Regions from separate parts of the Homo sapiens genome. Here region 2 is linked to region 1. Evidence: promoter capture Hi-C in human tissues and cell types (Jung and others, 2019). All regions are on one chromosome and are shown on one strand. The core of a region is centred on a gene start or on the middle of the fragment in contact, and the rest is flanking DNA. Distances in the headings are between cores, read along the strand shown.

What was found. The method cuts DNA at HindIII sites, captures the fragments that hold promoters and counts their contacts. A contact is called where the count stands out against the background at its distance.
Region 2: a fragment that was not itself captured here is called in contact with the fragment with the promoter of AMER2 in region 1 in 1 of the 25 tissues and cell types used here (lymphoblastoid cells).

What each region holds. Positions count from the first base shown.
Region 1 is chr13:25,168,254-25,174,044 of GRCh38, reverse strand. AMER2 (APC membrane recruitment protein 2) reads left to right here and starts at 1,757. Exons shown (of 1, transcript NM_152704.4): 1 at 1,757-5,791. The coding sequence starts at 2,426. The coding sequence ends at 4,441. It overlaps LINC00463 (long intergenic non-protein coding RNA 463), which reads left to right. Exons shown (of 4, transcript NR_120428.1): 3 at 1-132; 4 at 723-1,221. RefSeq lists an enhancer at 1-898 and a silencer at 3,178-3,267. The HindIII fragment of the contact is 4,196 bases long and covers 469-4,664 here.
Region 2 is chr13:24,641,018-24,646,639 of GRCh38, reverse strand. No RefSeq gene overlaps it. Among named protein-coding and RNA genes, the nearest start is that of ATP12A, 37 kb to the left of the region's middle. The HindIII fragment of the contact is 4,818 bases long and covers 748-5,565 here.

The DNA of each region.
Region 1 (5,791 bases), core at 508-3,007:
GAAGTTTAATATAAGGTATGGCTCAGTCTTTGTGATGATTCATAACCTGGCTCTAACCAACAAACCATTGGACCATCCTGCGCCTCATCTCTCTCCCCTACAGAGTCTCTCCTTACCTGTCTGGCTTTTGGGGTAAGTTCCTTTCAGCTGACTTCACCCTCGTTTTTCCCACTGTCTCTGTAACAAGGACTTTGAGTAGGACGCTGGAGGGTCCTCACTCACACCGCAGCCTCTACAGCTCCCATGCCCAGTGCCTTCAGATTGTTCCAGGGGTCCCTGCTTTCTTCTATCTCAGGGCCAGTAACTCACAGTGAGGGCACCTTCCGCAGGCTGAAGACAGCTTTGTCTCTTTCTCTTTGTTTGAGTGTTGATGTCCCAAAAGAATGATATCCATCCCAAAGTCCTCTATCAGATTTCTCCCAGGAGGCCCAAAGATTCTCATGTAAATTAGAGTCACATTTGACCTGTCCTGATGGGTGAATAAGCAGACCACTTTCTCCCAGTGGAGAAAGGGAGATTTTTTAATAGGCGACTTACTTTTCCTTGATCCCAGTCACAAACTCTTCCAAACTGACAGAGCTACATAGTAACCCACAAATCTAAGCAACTGTATGGGTGTGTGTGTGTTTGTGTGTGTGTGTGTGTATGTGTGTAAAATTGAGAGACTTTCTATTGTTCTTCAAAAGGTTGTAAAGACGTAACAAATGGGTTTCTCTTTACAGTTCCTTACACGTGGTCTCCCCAGAAAGCACTGAGGACTCTGATTCATCATGTCAAGCGGTCAATTAGAATCCGGGAAAGCCTCTCTCTGGCCTCACCTTACTTCCTGTACCAGGAGAGATGCTCATCAATAGTGAGAAAGAGTTGATGGGATTAGAGTCTGGAAGTGACAACCTCTCCTGAACCTGAACTCATTGATTTCTTCGTTTTACAAAACAGTGTTCTTGAAAAAAATAAACAAAAAAAGGAAATAATACAACTAAGAACTCCAAGGTCTAAATTTTAACCAGCTGTATCTCATAACAACAGAAGCTGCAATGGCCAACATACGTCATTTATAAAACGCCAACTTATGTGGATGGGGATTGGGATTTATTGGCCTAATGCAAAGAGCATATAAAAAATGAGTAGGGAAAAGACTACTGTTTGTGTATATATGTAATTATTACATATATTCTTAAATGATATTTAATAAATAATCAAATGATTAAATAATATATACTATATATACATGTTATATTTATATATGTATATGCTTCTCCAAATTTCTTTTTGCTAAAAAGCACTCAGCTGGGATTATGAAATCAGATGTCAAGATTAGAATATTAGCAGTCACTTTTTAAATCAGAACACAGAACAGATCCCTAGACTGAGCTGTTCCCAGAAAAAAGGTTTTCCCTCTCCCCAGACCAGGCAGGTAGGAATGTCTGCAGAGATCCCTGGACACACAGGGACCCCTGCCAAGCTTTTCCTGCTCTGTACATTGGGGAAGGGGACTACAAGTCAGCCCTGGTGGTATGGGGGAGGGGAGTGGTACCGCAGTGACAGGAATAATGCCACTGTCCTGCTGAGTGGGAAAGGAGAGGGCAGAACCCGGACTCGAAGGCCCACCTGTGGAGTGGGTCTGAGATTCCCAGCCTGTGTGTCTCGGTCAGCTTGTCTATTGTTATCAGATGTGGGCTGTGCCGCAGCATCTGTGACTTCATCCCGTGGTGGCTGGAGTCTGGGATAAAAGTCATGGTTGTCCCAAAGGTGCAGGCAAACTCCACCCCGGGGAGCTGTTGTGCTTGCATTGCTGGGCTGCTGATAGACTGATTGAGTGGTGGCGTGTACTTTTGTCACAAGAACCATAACCACAATGACAGCCACACAGCATGGACCTAGCGTGTGCTCAGCTCTGGACAAGACATGGATGTAGGCAGACATGCTTCCTGCCTGCTGGGCTTAGTGCACCAATGCTAAGGACAGACATGAAGGGCTTGGGAAAGGCATGAAGATGCAGGGAGTCTAGGAGAGAGGATAAGAAAAACAAGCATTTTGTGGTGGGTTGAATTGCGTTGTCGTTTTTAGAGGCATTTCGTGATCCATGGTTGCGCTCCCGTGAAGAGCGAGTCTAGAGAAGGAATCCGAAGGTGGGTGAGAGTTGAGGGAATTTGAATTCCATAATTACGACTCGAATTTCTGCAATCAGCTCGCGGCTGTGTTGCCTGCTCCTGCCACAAAAACGCCATGCAGCGCCGAGCCAAGTCGGATGGAAGTGGGTTAGGGTATTATATAAGCCCTTGCGGGAGGGAAGATGGTCTTTTATGTGTGTTTCTTTTGCAGCGGCGGCGGCGAGCGCGGCTCAGGTTGATTTAGAATACGGGTGACAGTGGCCTGGCGCGAGCCCACTGCTGACGAAAGCGGCTTATCCCGCGCGGTTTCCATGGAGACGAGCCGGAGCCGCGGCGGCGGCGGGGCTGTCAGCGAGCGCGGCGGAGCTGGCGCGTCCGTGGGGGTCTGCAGGAGGAAGGCGGAGGCCGGGGCCGGGACCGGGACCCTCGCGGCAGACATGGACTTGCATTGTGACTGTGCCGCCGAAACGCCGGCCGCCGAGCCGCCGTCGGGGAAGATTAATAAAGCTGCCTTCAAATTATTCAAGAAGAGGAAATCGGGTGGCACCATGCCCAGCATTTTTGGGGTCAAAAACAAAGGGGACGGGAAAAGCTCGGGTCCGACGGGGCTGGTGAGGAGCAGGACCCACGACGGACTTGCCGAGGTGCTGGTGCTGGAGAGCGGCAGGAAGGAGGAGCCGCGCGGCGGGGGCGACAGCGGCGGGGGCGGCGGGGGGCGGCCGAACCCGGGGCCCCCCAGAGCCGCAGGGCCCGGCGGGGGCTCCCTCGCCAGCAGCTCGGTGGCCAAGTCGCACAGCTTCTTCTCGCTGCTGAAGAAGAACGGGCGCTCGGAAAACGGCAAGGGAGAGCCTGTGGACGCGAGCAAGGCCGGCGGCAAACAAAAGCGGGGGCTGCGGGGGCTGTTCAGCGGCATGCGCTGGCACAGGAAAGACAAGCGGGCCAAGGCGGAGGCCGCGGAGGGGCGCGCGCCCGGGGGCGGCTTGATCCTACCCGGCTCGCTCACCGCCAGCCTGGAGTGCGTCAAGGAGGAGACGCCCAGAGCCGCGCGCGAGCCGGAGGAGCCCAGCCAGGACGCCCCGCGAGACCCAGCAGGTGAGCCCGCAGGGGGAGAGGAGGTGCCCGCCCCCGCCGACCGCGCCCCAGCGCGGAGCTGCCGAGAGGCAGAGGGCCTCGCGCACCCCGGCGACACCGGCGCCCGGGGAGAGGACGCCGCGGGGCATCGGCGCGCCGAGCCGGGGCCCGGGGAGGTCCGCACGGCAGAGGACGCTTCCAGGACGGGGGCCGTTCCCGTAAAGACGGTCCCCCTTGTCGACTCCGAAGGCGGCAGCGGCCGGGCGCCCGCCGCCCCAGACCCTGCCTCTGTCGATCCACCCTCAGACCCGTCGGCAGATCGTATTTGTTTGATGTTTTCTGACGTGACTTCACTGAAAAGCTTTGACTCTCTTACAGGCTGTGGAGATATTATTGCAGACCAAGAGGAAGAGGCAGGTCCCAGCTGTGACAAGCATGTCCCCGGGCCAGGCAAGCCGGCTCTGTCTAAAAAGAACCCCGGCGTGGTGGCCTACCAAGGAGGCGGGGAAGAGATGGCCAGCCCGGACGAGGTGGACGACACCTATCTACAGGAGTTCTGGGACATGCTCTCCCAGACCGAGGAGCAGGGACCCGAGCCCCAGGAGGGCGCGGCTAAGGTGGCAGCTGCGCTGGAAACCAAGGTGGTGCCCGAGACCCCCAAAGACACCAGGTGTGTGGAAGCGGCCAAGGACGCGTCCTCGGTCAAGCGCAGGAGGCTCAACCGGATTCCCATCGAGCCCCATCCTAAGGAGGAGCCCAAGCACCCGGAGAAGGAGCAGCAGGAAGGCGTCCCCAACAGCGACGAGGGCTACTGGGACTCCACCACGCCAGGCCCAGAGGAAGACAGCTCGAGCAGCGGGAAGAAGGCGGGCATCCCCCGGGATAGCTACAGCGGGGACGCGCTCTATGATCTCTATGCTGACCCGGACGGAAGTCCAGCAACCCTTCCTGGAGGGAAGGACAACGAGGAGACGTCCTCCCTGTCCCGGTTAAAGCCCGTATCTCCAGGCACCATCACCTGTCCACTGCGAACACCAGGCAGCTTGCTGAAGGACTCTAAGATCCCTATTAGCATCAAGCACCTGACCAACCTTCCATCTAGCCATCCCGTGGTGCACCAGCAACCCTCCAGGAGTGAGATGCCCAGAACAAAAATCCCGGTTTCCAAAGTGCTGGTCCGCAGAGTCAGCAACCGGGGCTTGGCTGGGACCACCATCAGAGCAACGGCCTGCCACGACAGTGCCAAAAAGTTGTGAGGTCTTCCAGGCCAAGGTGGATGGGCCCCATGCCAAGGAATACAACTTTTCCCTGGAAACCACTAAAGTAAGTTTTGCTTTTCCTAAAGAAAGTCTTTTAGGACACCACCCGTCCCCCGCCCTGCTCCAGAGCGTGGACCGAGGAGGTCTTTGTGCCCTGAGCAGGGACCGGATAACACCAGAAAGAGGGATGCTACACGGGGGTTTCTCCTCTCAAGATAAGTCCCTGAGAATTATTTTCAAGCACTTTTTTCTTTTTTACCTTTAAGTTTTTCTTCCTTTTGCTTTAATATACTGAACACTTGGAAGTCACCTTTACTTGCCTTTGCAGAAAACAGAACTTAGCCAAACCTAAGTAAGAGTCATGCCTGGATATTGGGATAAGCCAGTGTCTAGAGGCCTGAAGGAACCGCTGAAGAACCAGAGGAGATCTCCTCTTCCAAGACACGTTTCCTTCCTTCCCTTCTTTCCTCTTTCCTTTCCAGTTAAAAAAAAACAAAAACAAAAACAAAACCCTTTGCTGTATCACTGTGTGGAAAATACCTCCAAAGCTGAAAGAGCCAGGTATTTACCTGATGAGCAGAGGGGACCACTGATTGGCAGAAAACTTCCCTACGTTCAGTTGTTAGATATGCAAATTGATAAGGATCTAACACTAGGAAAATAAAGGCGAGTTTTGGTTTGGTTGGTTTCAGTCATTTGTTTGGGGAGATATAAAAGGCTCAGGAGAGCAGGCTTTTGCTTTTGCTTTTGTTTGTTTCTTCCCCCACCCAGTGCAGAAATCAGGATCAGGGAAAGATTTTATTAAATGCCAATAGATACAGTATTTAAGCATTTATAAACTGAAACCTTTTCATGTGAAGATAATGCATATTTTACCGTTTATCCAGCTGTTAACATTTTGTAATCAGTCAATTCAATAGAATTATTCTGGATAATTCTATATCTAGAATATAAAATCTGGTCTTATAGCTAGACATGATGATGGTCCCCAAACCATTGATGTTCTGTTATGTACTGTAATGGGAAGCGATTCTGATTTTGTTTTATATGGGTTCTCTGGTTCTCAAAAAAAAAAAAAATCTATTGTGCTGGTGTCCCAGAGGAATGGCTCTGCCTTGTTTTGGGTAAGAGTCTGTTTCTCACCCCAAACCCTGTTTTCAGATTTTTTTTTACCTTGATTGTAAAATTTCAGATCCAACCATTCCTCAATATAATGAGTGCAAAATGAGGAACACATAAAGAAAAACAATAGAAAGATACAGTTTTTCACATCATTTGCCTTTTGCTTTATAGACTTATGACAAAGACAAGTGTGTTCAGAATATGACACTGGCAAGCTTATGTATT
Region 2 (5,622 bases), core at 1,907-4,406, 530 kb after region 1:
GCCTTAACCCTAAAGAGACCTGGAAGAGCTGTGGCAAGATGAGGGCATTTATAACCCTATCTTATCCATATGAACCGGTGCCCCTCATGTGTCTGTTTATAGGCTCTCCACAAGGGTTGCATTCCATTCCCAGAGCTATGAACATCTGCTTTTCTGGGATAGGAATCTTGGTGATGTGAAACCTCCCTGACTGCACGTCCATTCATAGGCTCTCTAGGGGGGAAGCACATCACGCTGTTGGCTCGTTCTGGCAGCCCAAACTGGCATTGTCTTTACACAATCCTGCAGGCAATTTTGTATTTACGATAATCAGGGGCATTTTATCTTTTATTCCGTAGCAATAGTTTCAGGGGGTCTCCCTACAACAGGACAATGAAAATATTGAAAAAAAAAAAAAAAAAAGACCATGCTGGGTGCAGTGGTTCATGCCTGTAATCCCAGCACTTTGGAAGGCTGAGATGGGAGGATGGCTTGAGCCCAGGAGTTCAAGACCAGCCTGGGCAACATGGAAAAACCCCATCCCTACAAAAAAAAAAAATTAGCTGGGCATGGTGGTGCATGCCTGTCCCAGTTACTGAGCTGGACCTGAGTCCCAGCTACTCAGGAGGCTGAGGTGGGAGGATCACTTGAGCCCAGGAGGCAGAGGTTTCAGTGAGCCGAGATCATGCCACTGCACTCCAGTCTGGGTGACAGAATGAGACTTTGTCTCAAAAAATAAAAATTAAATAACAATAATAAAAGAAAGATCAAAAATTATTTAGAACATACTGTATGGGAAACATGAATCATTCAATAAACGGTATAAGAAAAAATAGCTGTAGAATAAGCTAATTTTGATTCTCACCTCACTTCTGCTCAAACATATTTCAGATATGTTAAAATCACTATCAAAATACAACATAGCAAGCAAAATAAATCCAGAATTTTATTCAAAATAAAAAGAGCAATAGAGTTTATCTGAGGAGTGCAAAAAAAATCTTCAATGTAATCCATCACACTGGCAAATTAAAAGAAAAAATCATATTGTTATATCAGTAGATTTAGAAAATTCACTCAAATATCCCAACTCTGCTTATGATAAATAATCTTTAATTTATTAAAAGTGTATTGCCTCAAAACCTATAGCAAACTTCACACTGAATAGTGAAATCTTAAAAGAGGCTCATTAAAATCAGACACAAACATCCCTGTTATCACCTCCACAGTTTAATATTACACTGGGGATTCTGGCCGATGTAAAATTTATACTGTCAGATGAAATATCTATAAGGAAAATCCAAGAGAATCTCATTATGAACTGTAACTACTATTAAGTGAGCTCAACAGTTTGTTGGATAGATCCTTTACAAATTCAACAATAAAAGATATTTGGAAAATCCCCAAATGTTTTAAAATTAAGTAACACATTTCTTATATAACCATGGGTAAAAGAAGACATCACAAGAGAAATTAGAAAGTATTTTGTACCAATAAAAATGAAAATAAAAACATATCATTTGTCACAAAAATGTACATGAAATGTATATGCTGTATTATAGCAAATAATACAGCATATTAAAATCAGAATCAGTGACTCCATAGCACTTGGGTTTGAGGTCGAGTTGGGAACCATGTGCGGTGATGGAGACATTCTGTATTGTGACTGAGGTGCTGGGCCATATGGGTGTATATATTTGTCAAAACTCACCTGGCTCAGTGTGGTGGCTCATGCCTGAAATCCCAACACTTTGGGAGTCCAAGGCAGGAGGACTGTTTGAGTCCAGGAGTTTGAGACCAGCCTGGGCAACATAGTGACACCTTGTCTCTACAAAAAATAGAAAAAATTAGCTTAGCTGGGCATGGTGGCATGCACCTGTAGTCCCAGCCACTCGGGAGGCTGAGGCAGGAGGATTGCTTAAGCCTGGGAGGTTGAGGCTACAGTGAGCTGTGTTTGCAGCACTATACTCCAGAAAGGGTTCTTGAATCTCATGCAAGAAAGAATTCAGAGCGAGCCCATAGAGTAAAGCGAAAGCAACTTATTGGAAAAGTAAAGGAATAAAGAATGGCTACTCCATAAGGCAGAGCAGCCCCGAGGGCTGCTGGTTACCCATTTTTACAGTTATTTCTTGGTTATATGCTAAATAAGGGGTAGATTATTCATGCCTTCCCCTTTTAGACCATATGGTGTAACTTCATGACATTGCCATGGCATTTGTAAACTGTCATGGCGCTGGGGGGAGTGTAGCAGTGAGGATGGCCAGAGGTCACTCTCATGGCCATCTTGGTGTTGATGGGTTTTAGCTGGCTTCTTTACTGCAAACTGTTTTATCAGCAGGGTCTTTATAACCTGTATCTTGTACTGATCTCCTATTTCATCCTGTGACTTAGAATGCCTTAACTGTCTGGGAATCCAGCCAAGTAGGTCTTGGCCTCATTTTACCCAGCCCTTATTCAAGATAGAGTTGCTCTGGTTCACATGCCTCTGACAGTTGTGTAATTCAGTTGGTTATAATGAAGAGGAAATTATAATAGTCTTTGTAGAGATGGGTCTTTGATACTTAAAAGTACACTAATACAAAACTAAATAGTCAAATCAATATTTTATTACAAATATTTGACTTTTAATGCATGAAGTTTTTAAACTTTAACATTCTATCATCTGTCTTTAACATTCTTCAGATTGATAGCTCAGAAGTTCAACTCTTTCTCTTGTGAAAAGGCAAGGCCTTGAATGGTAGCTTTCTTCTTTACCTTTTGTTGTCTGCTGTTACTTTTATTAACTGTCTAAAATAAGTGAGATAATTTTCTTGAAAATTGGCAAATAAAATATCTTTTGAAACTGCCTTTTTATTCTGCATGCTTTTTATATCTCTATCTTTATTTGTGTCATGGGGAAGTGATATTTTACTACCAAACTACATGAAAGAGCTCTAATCAAGTAACTTAAAAAATGTTAAGTGCTTATCAGATTGGTAGAAGCTAGCTCAGATGCCTTTTAATTCACATGACTTGGTAATCTTCGGTAAAATAAACTTGGTAAATTTAATCTTAAAACTCTCCCCAGTAATTTAAAATTTTAAAGTCATGTTAAAAACCTGTTTTTTTCCCCCACTGGAAATTTGGGTTACTAAAATTTAAAATAGTTGGAGCGTAAAATATGCTTTTGGCAAAATTTTATAAAACACAAGGATGTCAATTTTCAAAAAAATGTAAGTTTTTTGGTTAAGAAACTAAGAGTAGCTTTATAATGAAAGAGAATTATACAGATAAAACTAAATGGATTAAAAAAGAAAGCAAGCCAGGGCAACAAAAGTTAAATCTGAACCCTGTGGTAAAGCCAAGTAATCATTAAAAACCAGAGGGCATAATGTAAATTGTTCCATTTTGTAGACTGGTATCATTCGGCTTCTTTAAAAAATCTTTAGTGGATTGTAAAAGCCACCACTTTTAAGGACAAAATTATTCATTTTAAATGCTACAGAATTTAAGAGCGTGTTTGGATTAATACAGGACCCACAGCTCACTACTGAACAATCACTGATGAGTATATGTGATCCAAATGAACAGAAGGTTATTCCTGAGAAAAGAATCAGCCTAGTGGACTGGATAAATCCAGTAAGGTCTGTTTGCCCTGAGAAGGGGACTGCCCAACTCTCTCTATAAAATACCAAGTGAAGCACCCCAGGTGAAGCATTAACATGCTTCATATGCAAGCCATGTTGGACTGGCTTTATGATAACTGAGGTATCTTCCCACCAAATATGCCTACTACTCAAGGTCATGGTAAATTTGGGGGTTAAGGGGCCCCCTTTTACATGAGTGCCCCTTGCACAGAATCATAGGACTGTTTAAGAAGCCTTATCCAATTTGCTGTCCCTCACAGGTCTTACAGACACAACTCCCTGCTGGGAACCCAAACTCTTTTCACCAGAAAAGGTAAAATAGACTGGGGGTGTAAAAGGGTTCCTGGGACCCGAACATAAAAACATAGAGTTTAATAGAATTATACAATTTATGATGTTTAAACAAGCTTTATGTAAGGTAGTTGTAACCCCTTTTACCTAAATGTCTTATGAAAATGGGTACTATGTCTAACTGGGGGACGTTTTCCTTTTCCTAGTACTGTAAAACTGAGGGCATGTAAATCTGCTCTTCTAGGAAATGTTATTTGAACACACTAAATAGGAACTAGTAAAATCGTCTAAGCCCACAAAGTATAGGGTAGGAGCTGGAGTGCTAATCGGGACAAATCCTCCACTGCGTAGCCCTTTGAGTGGAACATTTATCGGGGCCGATGACAAAGATCATGAGTACTTTTCAATGACAATGACTGAATTAGAGAATTTCCACTTGTTGGGGCATTTATTGCCTTGCCATGAAATATTAACTGAAGCTACCCCTATGCTAATAGAAATAATATTTCCCCAAAGAGTTCTGTGATAAAATAAAAATGGTTTACATAAAATCTTGCTACCTAATAAGAAGAGAGCCTCTTTCCTAGAACTAATTGTGAGGAGCTACTAAATGCTACAGTGCCTGATAGACAGCTCTCATGAGCTGTTTTGTTTGTAATTGGCATTTCCAAGGTAAACAAGCATCTGGTTTTAAAGCTGCTGCTCTGGTTAAAGAAAGGTTAAGAAAATCTTTCTTTTTCTTTTAAGCTATTTGGCTAAAGTATGTTTATTTTTTATTTTGTCTTTTTTGGGGGAGGAGTAAATTGTGTTTTTGTAAGCAAACTTACCTTTTGGGTTCACCAAAATTCAGATTGTAATTTTGTGACGATATAGTTGTCCGCATAAGTTCAATAAGAGTTTAAAAAAAAAAAAAATTGGAGGCACCGGTTATTTTTCCAAGACTTAAACTAAAATAGCGTATTGTTAGGTATAGTTCCAGCAAAGCCAACTCAAAAGGAGTATATATGGCCAATGAATTCTTGCTGCATTTTATGCAAATAACCATGCAAGCATAATAAACCTAAAACTTGCCTGGCACACAAATTGGTGTTGCTATAATTTCTCTTTAATTAAAAAAAAAAAGCAGCTAGAGAAGCTTGTTTCAAGGGAAAAGTGTAACACTTAATACTAGATTTCAGCCCTAACTTTTTTTGAATGCAGATTAAGTCATTTCTTGGCTACAATAATCCTATAGAGAGTACCAGATTATAATTTTTCTTCATATCTTTAGTTGGTACCCTAATAGAAGAGGTTTCTTTTTCTGTTCTGACATACAAATACTTTTTTTTTTTTTTTAAGATGGAGTCTCGCTCTGTCACCCAGGCTGAAGTGCAATGGTGTGATCTCAGCTCACCGCAACCTTTGCCTCCTGGCTTCAAGCGAGTCTCCTACCTCAGCCTCCTGAGTAGCTGGGACTACAGTCACTCGCCATCATGCTCACCTAATTTTTGTATTTTTGTAGAGACAGAATTTCACCATGTTGGCCAAGCTGGTCTTGAACTCCTGACCTCAGGTGATCCACCCGCCTCAGCCTCCCAAAGTGTTGGGATTACAGGCGTGAGCCACTGCATCCGGCCACAAATTACTCTTATAATTGTCAAACTAGAAGTGTTATTTATCTCTCCTTGTTTTACTTCCACAGAGACCAAAATCATGGTATTCTGAAGACCAGAGATATGAATCTCCCTCA